2 separate regions of the Homo sapiens genome follow, and region 2 is linked to region 1. The links are contacts of gene promoters, found by promoter capture Hi-C in blood cells and fetal thymus (Javierre and others, 2016). All regions are on one chromosome and are shown on one strand. Each heading gives the region's core, a stretch centred on a gene start or on the middle of the fragment in contact. The rest is flanking DNA. Distances are from core to core; before and after follow the strand shown.

Region 1 (2,797 bases), core at 120-2,619:
GGTTCAAAGAAACCATCACCACGCATGCCCTTGTTTCCATAATAAAGTCCCCTAAAAGACTGTTTGGTCTTTGAGGGTGGGGAAAGTGCCCGATGGGTGGTGGTAGGACTGCTTTCAGAAGGGCTGCTCGGTCCCCCAGACTGAGGGCCATTTTCAAACTCTCAACAAATGAAATAACCAGATAGAAAACTGCCACCATCAGTGGAGCCTTTCACTCTGCACTTCAGGAGGTCTGACAGGGTCACTAGTACTTCAAGATTCCCGTCCCTATTTCTGTCTTAAGCATGTTCGTTTTATACCCTGTTATGAGATGTTCTTTGATTCTTGGAAAAACAATTTCTTGGAAGCTGAAAAGAGTAAGGAGATGAATAGGAAATGGAGAGGTGAGTGCAGGGCACTTGTAAAAGCTACTATAAGATTGGTAAGTCCACCAAACCCAGGGAGATGGCCTTCCTAATGCCCACCCCCACCCCACTCCTGGTGCAGTCAGTGCTGACCTAGGGATCACCTGCCACAGGCTCATCCTAATGCCCACCCCCACCCCACTCCTGGTGCAGTCAGTGCTGACCTAGGGATCACCTGCCACAGGCTCAGGCTCCACCACCCAGCTCTCCCCCGTGGGGGACGGAGCGAGGGGTGCCGCCACAATAAGTTCCCACTTCCAGAAGCATGCTCTCTCCCCAGTGTTGCCCCCTGTTAGGTGAGCCAACTGAGTAGGAAAACGGTGTGGGCGAGGAGGGGGACCCAGTCGAGCCGCTCACGCTGGAAAGCAGCTCTCTGTCCTTCGACATTGGTGCGACCCTTCCCCAAGGAGCACACAAAAGGCGGCTGCTCCACGTTGTTTTCCAGCCCCTAGCCGCCTGGGCCCTGGGGGCTTGCGGGGTGGAGGGACGTGAGAGTTCTCCAGCCCTCCTGCGGGCACTGCAGCTCGGAGGCGGGAGAGGAGCACTAGGGCGGGAGAGGAGCACGCCCCACTCTTGGAGACATTTCATCACCCCTCTCTGTTCCCCCACCCCACCCCGCCCTCCCCACTCAAGCGGAAAAAAAGAAGCAGCCCAGATCTCCCCTCCCGGATGCGGCTGCACCAGCAACATCAGCTGCGGGCGGAGCCCGAGCGGTAGCCACTTCCCCCCTCTTCCCTCGTGACCCTCGCCCCCACCTCCAGTTCTCCCTCCCCCTCTACACACCCTTCCCCATCAGACACACCCTCCTGCTTCGGCTGGTGGCGATCGGAGCTCGGGCCCTCTAGGGGAGGGAGCTGCCGCCGCCGACGCCGTGGGGCAGGACAGTGAGCGGGCGAAGCGAGCGAGAAAAGGAGGGAAGGAGGGAACGAGGGAGGAGCAGCGGGTGGGAGGTGGGAGGGAGGAGCAGCGTGAGCCGCGCCGCCGCCGAGCTGCGATGTGGCCGGCCGGCCGGCGAGTAAACAGAGGGAGCAGCAGCGGCCGCGGCCGCCGCGGGCCGGGGCAGTGAGTCCACCCGCCCGCCGAGGTCCGCCCGCCCGCCGAGACCCGCCCGCCGCCGCTGCCATGGCCGAAGTGCGCAAATTCACCAAACGGCTCAGCAAGCCTGGCACGGCGGCTGAGCTCCGGCAGAGCGTGTCTGAGGCCGTGCGGGGCTCCGTGGTGCTGGTGAGTGGCCGGGGGACGGGGCATCCCGGGGGACGCGCTCCAGGCGGGAGCGACGCGGGAAGGGGCAGGAACGGCGCCAGTGCGGCCGCTTGGTGCGCCGCGCGCTGTCTTTCTCCGCTCCAGTAAGTTTTCGCACCGGCAGCCGCCGGCCGGGGTCCGAGTCCCAGGCGCCGGCTGACAGCTCTCCGGCCGCCCGGCACGGCGGAGGCGTGCGCCGGGATGGAAGCAGACGGGCAAAAGCCGGGCTCGGACGGCTGCGGAGGAGGCGGAGGCGGAGGCTCCCACCCAGGGTCGGGGCCGGGGGTGTGAGCTAAAGAGCTGACCTCGCGCTGCTCTGGACTCGGCACAAAGAGCCGGGGACAAGGGCACGACGAGATCCTGATCCCCTCCCGCGAGCACCTGAGGCCGCCTAGGCGGAAGGATGCGATGAGCGTTTGGCACACACACTCTCGCGCGCACACATACACACACTGTGTACACAAAAAAGAACCCCACCCAGAAAGCCCCGGGCGCCCAAGCTCGGGCTGGCGGTGAGAACAGAGGAAGCAGAGCGACTTCCTCCTGCAACTGGGGAGAGAGGGTGGTGATGGGTGTTGAAGGGGTGCTGCTGCGGAGGAAGGGCATTAGAAACAACGGGGTTCTGCGACAGAGTGGGCGCAGGGTCATCCACCGCAGGGAGAGTGTGTCCCTCGGGGACACGCGAGCGCTCCAGAGGCAAGGGGACCAAGGGGACGGTGCCGTGGGGATTTGGGGGAAGACTGGGTGTGTCAGTCCAGGGATGGAGGACCTGGGGTCAGAGCCCCACAGCTCAGGACTGGGGGATGGGGATTCGAAAGCGCGCTGACTCCCTGGGAACCCTCCCAGAGCACCCTCAGCCTTATCCAGATTGTCTGACTCTGGAGAAAGGCTAAAGGGTGCTAACGGGCACTTGCCCCTTCTCTTGTTTTCAAGACACTCGTTGCCAGTTTCCTGGACAAGCGAACAAACCCTGAATAAGCAATCGGACTGATTAATTAGTGTTTGTTTTGTTACTTTGTTTTTTGGTTGTTGTTTTTGTTTGTTTTTGTCTCCCTCAGCTCCATTTTACAGCGAGTCGTTTGCTGTGTTTAAATTTCACCGTTTAAGAGAGGGCTCTTTTTGTTAAAACAACTTGTCATCGGAAGGGAACT
Region 2 (2,797 bases), core at 200-2,699, 150 kb after region 1:
AACAGATCAGGAGTAATGCAGGCCCGGCTTCAGCATCTTAGTAGCCTAGAAAGTTCATTTACACTTAATCACAGTAAGTGAAAATGTGTGTGTGGTACCCATTTGACCTTAAAGAAGTCCTGGTTTAAATAATAAAAACTGAAGGTGATGGATACCATAAATACCTTGATCATTACACATTATATGCATGTAACAAAATATCACCTGTATCCCTTAAATATGTATGAAGAAAAGAAGTCCTGGTTTAAATTGCCAATATGATGGGAAATGATTTCCCATACATGTGTTTGCATCTCTCTGCTATGTATATAATCAATTTCATCATACATGACTATAAAATGATAAAATACACATGGATTTTTGAACAATTTTAGGTCATGATGTTTTCTTCTTAGTGTTAAAGAAACTAAATTTTTCCCATGGAATTGCTATTCTCATAATATTTTTATATTGAGTATTCTTCATTCCTACTGTTAGACTTCAATGCAAATATTGACATCTTAATATAATAGTATATGTAATATTTGTTTAGTTACTTTTGGTCATTTAATGATTAGGGAATGAACATGCTGAGTTGACTGCAGAAATCGGTGAATCCTAAATACTAGTTTGGCAAAGGTGTATTTCAGACAGGTTGAAGTATTGACAAGGCAAATAGGGCAAGGAGAGAAATCTTGCCCAACTGCGGAAGCTAGAGGGTTATATAAATGGAAGCTATCCTATGAAAAGCAAATATTAATAACAACTCAAAGAGTGAGAATGTTTTGTTTCCACACAGTCCTCTGAAGGTTTCAGAAAAGGAAGCCAGCAAAACTGGCTTTGTGGTAAGACCTAGTAATAAAAAATAATGTTTTGCTAGACCCTGAACTAATAGACTCAGGACCTTTAAATCTGCATGTTTTAAAGCCTTCAGCTTCTTGTAAAAATATGATGAACCACTTCCTTCAGTTGCCTCCAAGATACCTTGTTTTCCTTCTGATTTAGAAACAAATGTCATATAATTGGCATAATTGAAAATGTCTGACCATAGGGCACTACTGTTTATCTGTAGCTGAATTTCTATTTAGTGGTTTCTCATTTTTACCCACATAATTAGTGGCATGACTTAGAAGGCCTCCCACATTATTTCCTAGTTACATCGCCAGAGTTCATCACTGAAACCTTGTCTCCAAAGAGGTGGGCACCTAATTATGTCCTGCAGAGCTGTTGATACAGAACTGTAATGAAAACTAATGAAATTGATTAACCCAGACTATATTTGATGAAGGAGTTAAATACAGTATGACACTGTGAGCCCTCTTTTTTTTGAGACGGAGTCTCACTCTGTCACCCAGGTTGGAGTGCAGTGACGTGATCTCGGCTCGCTGCAACCTCTGCCTCCCGGGTTCAAGTGATTCTCCTGCCTCAGCCTCCTGAGTAGCTGGGATTGTAGGTACGTGCCACCATGCCCGGCTAATTTTTTGTATTTTTAGTAGAGACAGGTTTCATCATGCTAGCCAGGCTGGTCTTGAACTGACCTCATGATCTGTCCGCCTCAGCCTCCCAAAGTGCTGGGATTACAGGCATGAGCCACCGCACCCAGCCGAGCCCCCTTTCTTGTCTTAAGTCTTTGGGTAGAAAGTCATTCAACACCATTATGTGCATCTTCGTGTTGGGAAAAGTTTAATTTACTTTTTTAATCCTAGGTTCTACAACAACTGAAGCAGACATTTTCCACCAGGCACTTCTTGAAGGCAATACAGCTACTGAAGTTTCCCTAACAGTACTAGACACCATATCATTTTTCACTCAGTGCTTCAAGGTAAAAATGAAGAGTTATAATTCAGTTGGTACCATTGCAAAGTAACATTATGCAGAAATTACCTAGTCAATGTGGGGTAGTACACTGAAAAAGGCTGGCATGAATAGTCAGGAAATGTGGATGGCAGTTCTAGTTTGGTTATCATGTGACCCTGGAAGTCACTGAGACTCACTTGTGTCATCCATAAAGGGAAGGGAGTGGACTAACTTGCCCTTAAGCTCTCTTCTACCTCTTAAATTCTATTAGATTTTCGTATTTAAAAACAAAGTTTCCATACTTTAAGTAGCCAGCAATTTTTAGCCCAAAATATGATTGGATCTGTTTGCCCAAATACCCATTGTGATGAGATGTCCTGTCAGGGTAGATGATGTCCGGGCAGTCTGGCTGGCTTCCCTAGGCGCGCACTTAGTGTTTTTTCTCAGATGTTTGCCTCTCAGTGCAAATCATCATTGCTATGATTTTAAAAAGAAGGTAAAAGCAGTTATCTAGCAGGATTATTGGAGGGGGAAATGGGATAATGGACGTGAGAGTGCTTTGAAAAGTAAAAACGGTGTGACCATAATGTAAGAACTCAAAGGTGAAAATCTTGCTTGCTTTCACTTCAGTTATACAGATTTTTTTTTTCCTTTTTCCCCTCTTCTCTAAGTAATTAAGTTAATTGCTTCAGACCTCGAGATTTTCTATGGAAACCTGGCCTGTGCTTTTCAAAGAGGCTTATAAAGGAAAATTGAATTAGATACTAATATAAAATAGGCTGCAGAATACCTTTAATAAATAGGCTACAGATCCCTTTATGAAGTATTAGGTTTGTTCTATATTAAAATGCAACACAACTCCATGTTTCATCGTGCCAATAACTAAGAAAGCCATTAGATCTCATGATGTACATTGTATTCCTTCCTCCTATTCTGATACCTCTAATTTATTTAACAAACATTTATATAGTCTCTTGGTAGATATCAGGCACTGTCCTAAGTGCTTTACAAATATTAACTC

The links. Contacts are between HindIII fragments. The CHiCAGO score rates a contact against its expected background, and 5 or more counts as called.
Region 2: a contact is called between a fragment that was not itself captured here and the fragment with the promoter of DOCK11 in region 1, in 5 of 17 cell types (non-activated CD4 T cells, activated CD4 T cells, neutrophils and 2 more). The highest score is 7.6, in non-activated CD4 T cells.

The regions. Positions count from the first base shown.
Region 1 is chrX:118,494,446-118,497,242 of GRCh38, forward strand. It overlaps DOCK11 (dedicator of cytokinesis 11), which reads left to right and starts at 1,370. Exons shown (of 53, transcript NM_144658.4): 1 at 1,370-1,628. The coding sequence starts at 1,527. RefSeq lists enhancers at 708-777, 1,180-2,158 and silencers at 1,188-1,327, 1,438-1,517, 1,608-1,667, 1,838-1,897. The HindIII fragment of the contact is 5,195 bases long and covers 1-2,797 here.
Region 2 is chrX:118,639,505-118,642,301 of GRCh38, forward strand. DOCK11 (dedicator of cytokinesis 11) reads left to right here. Exons shown (of 53, transcript NM_144658.4): 38 at 1-73; 39 at 1,686-1,801. Among named protein-coding and RNA genes, the nearest start is that of IL13RA1, 87 kb to the right of the region's middle. The HindIII fragment of the contact is 5,304 bases long and covers 1-2,797 here.